Linked DNA regions of Homo sapiens: region 1 is linked to region 2. The links are contacts of gene promoters, found by promoter capture Hi-C in human tissues and cell types (Jung and others, 2019). All regions are on one chromosome and are shown on one strand. Each heading gives the region's core, a stretch centred on a gene start or on the middle of the fragment in contact. The rest is flanking DNA. Distances are from core to core; before and after follow the strand shown. Region 1 overlaps DNAJC27-AS1 (DNAJC27 antisense RNA 1). Region 2 holds the start of EFR3B (EFR3 homolog B).

The links. Contacts are between HindIII fragments. The study calls those that stand out against the background at their distance.
Region 1: a fragment that was not itself captured here is called in contact with the fragment with the promoter of EFR3B in region 2 in 1 of the 25 tissues and cell types used here (dorsolateral prefrontal cortex).

What each region holds. Positions count from the first base shown.
Region 1 is chr2:24,993,050-24,997,593 of GRCh38, reverse strand. All of the region lies in intron 1 of DNAJC27-AS1 (DNAJC27 antisense RNA 1), which reads right to left. Among named protein-coding and RNA genes, the nearest start is that of DNAJC27-AS1, 23 kb to the right of the region's middle. The HindIII fragment of the contact is 3,779 bases long and covers 1,077-4,544 here.
Region 2 is chr2:25,038,988-25,043,575 of GRCh38, reverse strand. It overlaps EFR3B (EFR3 homolog B), which reads right to left and starts at 1,500. Exons shown (of 23, transcript NM_014971.2): 1 at 1,257-1,500. The coding sequence starts at 1,263. DNAJC27-AS1 (DNAJC27 antisense RNA 1) reads right to left here. Exons shown (of 3, transcript NR_034113.1): 3 at 3,882-4,588. RefSeq lists silencers at 107-236, 567-696, 807-886, 1,017-1,636 and enhancers at 594-1,542, 1,543-2,492. The HindIII fragment of the contact is 5,946 bases long and covers 1-3,150 here.

The DNA of each region.
Region 1 (4,544 bases), core at 1,717-4,216, 47 kb after region 2:
AAAGATTTCCAGGCTGGGCACAGTGGCTCACGCCTGTAATCCCAGCACTTTGGGAGGCCGAGGCAGGTGAATCACCTGAGGTCAGGAGTTCAAGGCCGGCCTGGCCAACATGGTGAAACCCCGGCTCTACTAAAAATAAAAAAAATAGACGGGCTTGGTGGCCCACGCCTGTAATCCTGAGGTAGGAGAATCACTTGACCCGGGAGGCAGAGGTTGCAGTGAGCCGAGATTGTGCCACTGCACTGCAGCCTGGGCAGCAGAGACTCCATATCAAAAAAAATAAAATAAAAGGAATTCCAATTCTATTTATATACTTCAGAGTCTATTAATAAAAACCTATCCATGACTCACAGTAACACCTCATAGAGATCTCCTTTCCCCCATTCCTCTCGATCTTGGTGTCTCTTTCTCGTTACTCTCGCCTCTTTTCCTTTTTCCCTAGTCAAACACTTGTGGCTCTTTACAAAGAGTGACACATACTGATTTAGGCCATCCACTGTTCTTTCATATTTACACTCCACCCCCGTCCCCCTGTTGGGGAAGTGCAATTATCTTTGGAGGCTTCTAGAGCTGCTGCTAGATTCTTAGTGATTCATACCTTGTGCCTGAAATCCTTAAGGTTGAAGAATGGGGAAATTCTCTAGAAATTGCACAGTCACAGGCAAGAAGGGATATGTTCACTAGGCAAAAATCCTCAAGACTGCAGGCTCCCATTAGATGGTCTTCTTTGCCAAAGCAAAAGAAAATATGGGGCCATCTCTCATCTCCCCAAGCTTCAAATGTGGTCAATAAATTGGGGTGTGAAAAATGCCAAAAAATAAGTGGCCAAATATTCACAGTGATACTGCTTATGACATACTCTCTCACGCTGAAAGCAAATCAGGCTGTGAAGTCTCTCATCTGAGCCCAGCTGGCTCACCAGAACTCCGATTGGGGTTGGAGATCAACTGGCCCCCATGCACTGAAACTCACTGGCCAGAGATCTGGATAAGTGGCAGAGGCCCACCTATACCATTTGTTTTGCTACTCCAGACCTTAATTCTGCCACGTGTTCACTTTTTCTAAGGGATATTCTGGTTTCTTTTTCTCTTCTTTAGCCCTGTAAAATTCACCAATTCTGAGAATTCATTGGGACTGTAGAGGTTGTGATAATGTCTTTATTAAATATTTTTAATATAAAAAAACCTTATCTTGATTTAAGTGCCAAGATCCTCTAGACCTTGTTCCATGGACCCCTGTTAATAGCTATTCTTGCACGAACACATCAGTGGACCTGCTTTCCTTTCCTTGCTGAACAATATGATTATGAATCTGACATTTGAATCCCAAAAATTATCCATCCATCCTGCCATACTTAATTACTTATAGTTGTAAAGAAGCTTCAGCCAGGCGCGGTGGCTCACGCCGGTAATCTCAGCACTTTGGGAGGCTGAGAGGGGTGGATCACTTGAGGTCAGGAGTTTGAGACCAGTCTGGCTAACATGGCAAAACCCCATCTCTACTAAAAATACAAAAATTAGCTGGGTGTGGTGGCACACGCCTATAATCCCAGCTATTCGGGAGGCTGAGGCAGGAGAATCGCCTGCAGAGGCAGAGGTTACAATGAGCCAAGATCACGTCACTGCACTCCATCTGGGGCAACACAGCGAGACTCTGTCTCAAAAATAAATAAATAAATAAATAGATAGATAAATAAATAAATAAATAAACAAGAAGCCTCACAGCAAACTAACAGTTTTTCTATTTTGAAGCCCATTAATACCTTTTCAAGGGAGATGCTGGGGATTGTCACTTAGTTTAGTGGCATTTCTCAGCCTTCAAGCCCTTTCATGCCTACACCATTGCATTGGCAGGTGTTGACCATGACTTAAGTCTTTTTCTCAGCTCTTTGACCTTGCCCTTTCTATAAATTCCCTGGGTTTCTGGTTACCATTCACCTGAAGCAGCAGTTCCAAAGCCTGCTTGATTTGGTCTCCATGGTGGAGCTGAGCAGAAGTCACAGACCTCTTCTCTCCTTCCAGCAGGAAGTGGGTTAAAAACTAGCATGTGGGCTGGGCGCGGTGGCTCACACCTGTAATCCCAGCACTTTGGGAGGCCAAGGTGGGCAGATCACTTGAAGTCAGGAGTTCAAGACCAGCCTGGCCAACATGGTGAAACCCCGTCTCTACCAAAAATATTAAAAAATTAGCTGGGTGTAGTGGCGCACACCTGTAATCCGAGCTACTCGGGAGGCTGAGGCAGGAGAATCACTTGAACCCAGGTGGTGGAGGTTGCGGTGAGCTGAGATCGCGCCTCTGCACTCTAGCCTGGCGACGAGTGAAACTCTGTCTCAAAAAAAAAAAAAAAAAAGAACCTGAGTCCCTGACTTCATTGTGCCATTAACAAAAAACAAACAACAACAACAACAAAAAAAACAAACAAACAAAAAAAATAACTAGCTTGTGGTTTGCAACTACAAAGGGTTATTTTTTGGCTTTTTCTTTTTTTTTTTTTTTGAGATAGGGTCTCTCTCTGTCGCCCAGGCTGTAGTGCAGTGGCCCCATCTCGGCTCACTGCAACCTCCACCTCCTGGGTTCAATTCTCCTGCCTCGGCCTCCTGAGTAGCTGGGATTACAGGCATGTGCCACCATGCCCAGCTAATTTTTTTTGTATTTTTAGTAGAGATGGGGTTTCGCCATATTGGCCAGGCTGGTGTCGAACTCCTGACGTTGTGATACATCTGCCTCAGCCTCCGAAAGTGCTGGGATTACAGGCATGGTTTGTAATTTGGTTCTCTTTCTGGAATAACCAGTGCTAAGCAACCCATTCTCTCCCAGTTATAATTCTGATGCAAGTATCTTTTTAAAGGTACTGAATTTTGCAGCTATAGCTTAGCTCTGTGCTTCCTCCACTTCACACTTTAGCTGAAAGTCAGGATAGAAGGTCATCTTAGTTTTAATGAGGACCGTGCTGTCCTGGCTAGGCATTGCTTTTGGTCTTCTAAGATACAGTACAAAAGTCAGAATTCTGTCCTTTGACACCATCTAATTTGCTGGTTTGTTTTCAATATCTTTGTTTCCTTTTATTTCCTCTTGAACATTTATTTGTTGAGTAGTCAATAGTTACACAGGGTACAAAATACAAAAGTTGTAAAAGGATATTCAGTGGAAAGCCAGTCTCCTACTCTTAACTTCCAACCCTCAGTCCCTCTTCTTAGGCACCCACAATTACCAAAGTCTCTCTGCAGGTTCAAAACCATGAGTATTAAACAAACAAACAAACAAGAAAAGCCACACATGGTGATGTTGTTTTGCACCTTGATTTTTTTTTCTCTTATCTATCTCTTGGTGATAATTCCCTGTCAGTCACATGGAGTTGTCTCCCTTTTTTTTTAACTAGCTGCCTGTGGTTGTTCTGTAATGTAGCCAGAACCCCTATTGGTGGACATTCAGGTTGTGTCTGGGTTTTTAGTCTTTTTGTTTTCATGGACAAACTGTTAACCAGATGAAGAGAGGTAAAAATAGCTCTTATGTCCTGAAAACAACTTCAGGTTGCCACCGATTCTGTAAGATCTTATCAGGCTGTAAGACGCTTCCCATATAAGTCAGCCGGTGAGTGTTCAATGGCTCTTGGCAAGCTTTCTGTCAGATCTTGGATCCATGTTCAGGGAAACTGTAGAGCTCCTAATCAGCTGTATCAGGCATACATATGGCTAATTCTGAATGCCCAGCTCTGTGTTCCCTTCTCCCTTTTCTCCTCTCTTTCTATGCTATATATGAAAAAAATAGAAGAATAAATAGCAGAACCAAAAAGTGGTATAAGAGTTTGGAGGAAAGAGACTTATGTAAACTGGAGAACCAAAAATATATAAATATATTGGAGGTAATATTTGAGTAGGGCCAGGCCAGGGGTTGATAGAAAGGAGGAGTTAGTAAATTAAAGGCAAGGAAAACAGAAAGAGCAAAGGCAAAGGGAGGTGGCCACAGCTCAAATTCAGCAGACCGTGAGATCAAGCAGACTGGAACAAACGTTTCATGCTGAGGAGCACAGGCAGATGAGATAGGACAGATAAAGTGGAGTGTGATTCTGGAGGATCTGAATACATGGATGGCAAGCTTATATTTACTCTTAGAGGGTCTAAGATAAGTCTGGATATCCGGTATTCCCAACTTGTTCTTTTTTAGGAGTGCCTTAACTATTATCAATCCTTTGTGCCTCCACATAAAATTTAGAATCATCTTGTCAAATTCTCTTTGGGATTGTACCTGTAATAGCATTGGTTCTATAGATTAATTTAAGGGGAACTGACATCTTTACACTTTTAGCTAACAATGAATATGGTATATCTTCTCATTTACTTACTTTTCTTTTTTTTTAAGACAAGGTCTTGCTCTGTTGCCCAGGCTGGAGTACAGTGGTATGAGCTCAGCTCACTGCAGCCTCAACCTCCCAGGCTCAAATGATCCTTCCACCTCAGCTTCCCAACTAGCTGGGACCACAGGCACATGCCTTCATGCTTGGCTGATTTTGTTTATTTTTTGTAGAAGCAGGGTCTCACTATGTTG
Region 2 (4,588 bases), core at 251-2,750:
CCTGGATCAGAAATGCAAACGTATTTCTGAGCAACTGGGCAGGGAAGGAGACCGATGAAAAAGTTGAGTCAGTCTCTCTCTCTCTCTCAGTAGGGGGGCCCACCAATTGCTGAGCCTTTCCACCAGGCTCTCAGCTTCCTCTGCCTCTAACAAACTTTGTGACTCACAGTCTGTTCGCGGAGCGAGGCAGCTGAGCAGCCGAGCAGCCTCAGTGATGGGTTAAATTGGGAACGCACTCTTCTCCAAACACTGACCCCTCAAGTGCAGCCTGAGCCCCTACCTTGCAGTGGGGGTGGGAGGTGAGCACAGCTCCAATTATTTTGCTGGCACTAGAAGAGCTGCCAGAGACCTGGGTTTTCATGGACTTATGTCTACCGGGATCACACACACACGCACAGCCCTTGGTGGGCTGCAGGCTCAGGAATGCAGTCCATTCCTAGACTGGTCTAGGTCTCCAGTGCTCCATTCATCAGAGCTGCAATGTGGGACCCAACGCGCTCTCTCTTCTTCACCCACACTGCCTGCAAAACCAGAGGGAGTCCTAGCAAATGATCAAGCAGAGCCGTGCATCGTGAGGGTCTGGCTAACTGTTGCACGGCAGTTGAGGGGATGGCGGTGGAGGCGGGGAGAGGTCAGGGCTGTGCTGCACCCTCTCAGCAGCGTCTCCTCCCTTCATCACTGCGGAGGGAAAATCTGGAAGTTGGTGAACCTGGATCCCGCGGGGCGGCAGGGGCAGGCAGAGGCCGAGTCCATTCAGGCGGGCGAGACGAGACTCGGCCACTGGCTGCTCCCCGGGCCTCTGCGCCGCCGGCGCCGCCTCCCGCCTTCTCCGAGCCGCGCAGACGACCGGCCGCGGGCGTCTCCCTCAGCCCTGGACCGGCTTCCCACAGAAAACTCCCAGGCACAAACCGCTTTTGTTAATTCCGCAAATGCTGCCACACGACCACCTCCTCCAGCACTCCCGGTCTGCTCGGCTCCGGGAGACCCGCTTTCCCCTGAGCCTCCGCCCCCCGAAGGACCACCGCCCAGCACCGGCACGCGCCGGGCCTGGAGAGGACCCCAGGGTCCCCGGCCCGAGGCATCTTTGTCCTCGCAGCGCAGACGCGCGCGCACAGAGCGACCGCAACAGCCCCGCCGGGCACCAGGTCAGCGGCCTGGCCCCGCGCCAGGGCCGTGCAGGGGGACAATGGTCCGCGCCGGGGAAGTTTGCGGAGTCGCCCCCGCGGGCCCGGGCCCGGGCGCGGAGCCCTCCTTACCGTACATCTCGGCGGGGCGCGCGCCTCTCGAGAGGCCGGCGTCGCTGCGGCGTTCCCAGCCAGCCCTCGGCGGCGCCCGCCTTTCATTCACAGTCGGGGCGGGGACTGGCGGCGGCCGACAGGGGCCCGGGCGGGGAGGGAGCAGACGCGGGGGCCGGCCGCGGGCAGGACGGAGCCGGGCGCCGCCAGCCCATTCAGCGCCGGGCTGCAGCGGCCGCCTCCGCTCGGGTTGCTGGGCACTGCTGCGCGCAGGGGGCGGGGGCTATGCTAATACTAATGCTCCTCCCTCCCGGCTCGGCCAACCCGAGGCCTCTGCGAGCCCCTCGCCCCGCCCCGCCCCTGCGCCCCGCCCCCGAGAAACCCACAGCCGGAGATGCGCCTTTTCCGAGGCTGTCGCCCTAAGGGCCGCAGCGTGCACCTGCGGAGCTACCCACCCCAACTCCCTGCTCCTGTCGGAGCGCTCGGAAGCTCTCCCTAACCTGGGGTCCTCGAGGTCAGCCGGGGCGCTGAGAGCTGCAGGTGCACCCCTCCTCCAGTTCTGTCCAGGCTGCGTGGGCTAAGCCGGGGGGCGCAAGGATGGGAATTGGGGAATGACTTCCACCCTCTCCTGGCTAGGTACCTTAGCTGAGCGCCGTTCTCTGATGAAGCCCTCCAGCCCTCAGCTGCGCCCTACCAGCTACTCTCTGGCTAGGTGCCCAGCCACTCTCTGGCTAGGTGCTTGCTACCACCAAACAGCGTCCTTCCCGGGTCAGGGACGCAGGAAACGCACCCCACTCCCAACCCCCAAGGGCTGCAGGAAGTCCGCTTGCTTTTCCTCTCCCTGATTTATATGTGTAATTCGCAAGCTTTGCCGCCAGGATCCTCTCCAGCTGAGCCCCAGCGCCGACTTGAATTCCAGCTCTGCACCTGCCGTGACCCTATGAGGAACAGGCACAGAGAGGCAGCGGCTCATGCCTACGCCCACACCTGAAGATCTCTCCTAAGCTAGCTCAGGACTTCCCTGGGCTTCTCATCCAGCCTTCTTTACATTGCACACGTTCCCGTCTTTTTTTTTTTTTTTTTTTTTTTTTTTTTTTTTTTTGACATGGAGTCTCACTCTCGCCCAGGGTGGAGTACAGTGGCACTATCTCGGCTCCCTGCAAACTCCGCCTCCTGGGTTCAAGCGATTCTTCCACCTCAGCCTCCAGAGTAGCTGGGACTACAGGTGCGTGCCACCACGCCCGGCTAATTTTTGTATTTTTTGGTAGAGAAGGGATTTCACCATGTTGGCCAGGCTGGTCTGGAACTCCTGACCTCAAGTGATCCGCCCGCCTCGGCCTCCCAAAGTGCTGAGATTACAGGCCTGAGCCACTTCTCCTGCCCCTCCTGGCCTTTCAATATCGATTTCTTAGTTTCTCTTGGCCCATGGTTGAGAGTTGTTTGGGTTTTCTTTTGTTTTTTTCTACTGGTAGAAATATTCTACTAGTAGAAGTTAGAGAGGAAAGGAACTTAAAGATACTTAAGAACTGAACTTCATTTTACTTCATTTAACGTTGAGAGGTTAATTTATGTTGTTAGGCTGGGCTGTGTGTCTGTAGGCCAATGATCTACTCTCTCAACCCCAGCTTCCTGCAGGACTGTTGGGAAACTGGAATAAAATCTACATGAAATGACACAGTGGGCACTCATGTATATTTTTTCCTTCCTTCATGGCTCAAGGCAGGAACAGAGCCAGAGAAAGAATCCAGGTTGCCAGACTCTTGAAACAGTGCTCAGTCTGTTGCACTCAAAACTTATGTTTCCTATTTTTCTCTGGCCTGGGCCTCCACCTCCCGCCCGCGCCCCACTCTCTTGCTGTTTCCAGGTTTTCTTCTTCTTCCTTGACCTCTTTGACTCTCTTAGCAGCATGCCAGCCCCAAGGGAAACCCTGGGATGGTTCCTGGAACACACATTTAGTCTAGACCCCCCTACCCCGGGCACACACTCCCTGCATCTCACAAATAACCTCTGTCTCTGTTCTTCAGTTCCAGGACCAGGCCAGGTGGCTTTAAGATTGACTGAGAGTCAGACTTGAACTGGAGCAGGAAGGAGAATCTCAGCTCTAGCTTGATATGATCACCCAGAGACACTCCCTTCCCACAATTCTGCTCAACACAAAATATACTCATGAAACATTGGTGTCTACAGTACAGAAGGAAATGCAGTGTCTGTCTTCAAAGAATGAAAGGTCTAGCAGGGAATTCCAGATGAATACTGATAAAAACATTACTTGAGGCCAGACGTGGTGGCTCACACCTGTAATCCCAGCACTTTGGGAGGCCAAGGCAGGTGGATCACCTGTGATCAGGAGTTCAAGACCAGCCTGGCCAACATGGTGAAACCACATCTCTACTAAAAATACAAAAATTAGCCGGGCATGGTGGTGCATGCCTGTAGTCCCAGCTACTCGGGAGGCTGAGGCAGGAGAATCGCTTGAGCCTGGGAGGCGGAGATTTCAGTGAGCTGAGATTGTGCCTCTGCACTCCAGCCTGGGCGACAGAGTGAGACACTGTCTCAAAAAAAAAAAAAAAAAAAAAAAAAAAATTACTGGGCAGGAAAAAAACATAGTCAATTCTGCATGAGAAGTACAGACCTCTATTTAGAAAATTCACAAGGCTGATAGTTTAATTTGTTCTTTCTATCAGCTATTTACCAATCACTCCCTATGACATGCTAGACACTGTGGAAGGTACTTAGGAGCGGGGAGACATGTAAAAATTATCATAAAATCTTATAATGACTATGGAGGCACATACAAGGAGCAGGGAAGAGTTTCATGAAGGGAAAAAGAAAAAACAATTCAGGTGTGGGAGGAGGGGCACAGGGCTTCCAAGCCCTCCCCCAGGCACCACCCTCCAGGAACCTCGATGTGTTCAGTTATCCCAAAGCTCCCTGAACCCTGTCCGCTTGGGTTTTTATGAAAGCTTTATAACGTCAGCATTCCTTCCCCCGGGGTATAGGGTGGGAACCTCTCTGGGAATGGTCTTAAGAACAACCATTGGAAAGTCCAGGAAAGATTAGAGTCCTGCCTGGGGGCAGGTGAAAGGAGGGCAGGAGAAGGAGAGAGTCTGTTTCCTGTGGCCTAACACACTCAATATTACAACAAAAGACTGTAACAAGGGCTATGGGAGTTATGAGCCAGGAATCATGGAGGAAAACTGTCTATCATAACAACACAGCATTCAAGGTCCTTCCAACAGGGCCCCAGACTTCCTTTCCCACCTGGCTTCCACCTCCTGTTCCCTCCTCAACTGTGCTCCCACTAGATGGGCTTGCACACCACACTTACCATACTCTTTCCTCTACCATCTCTG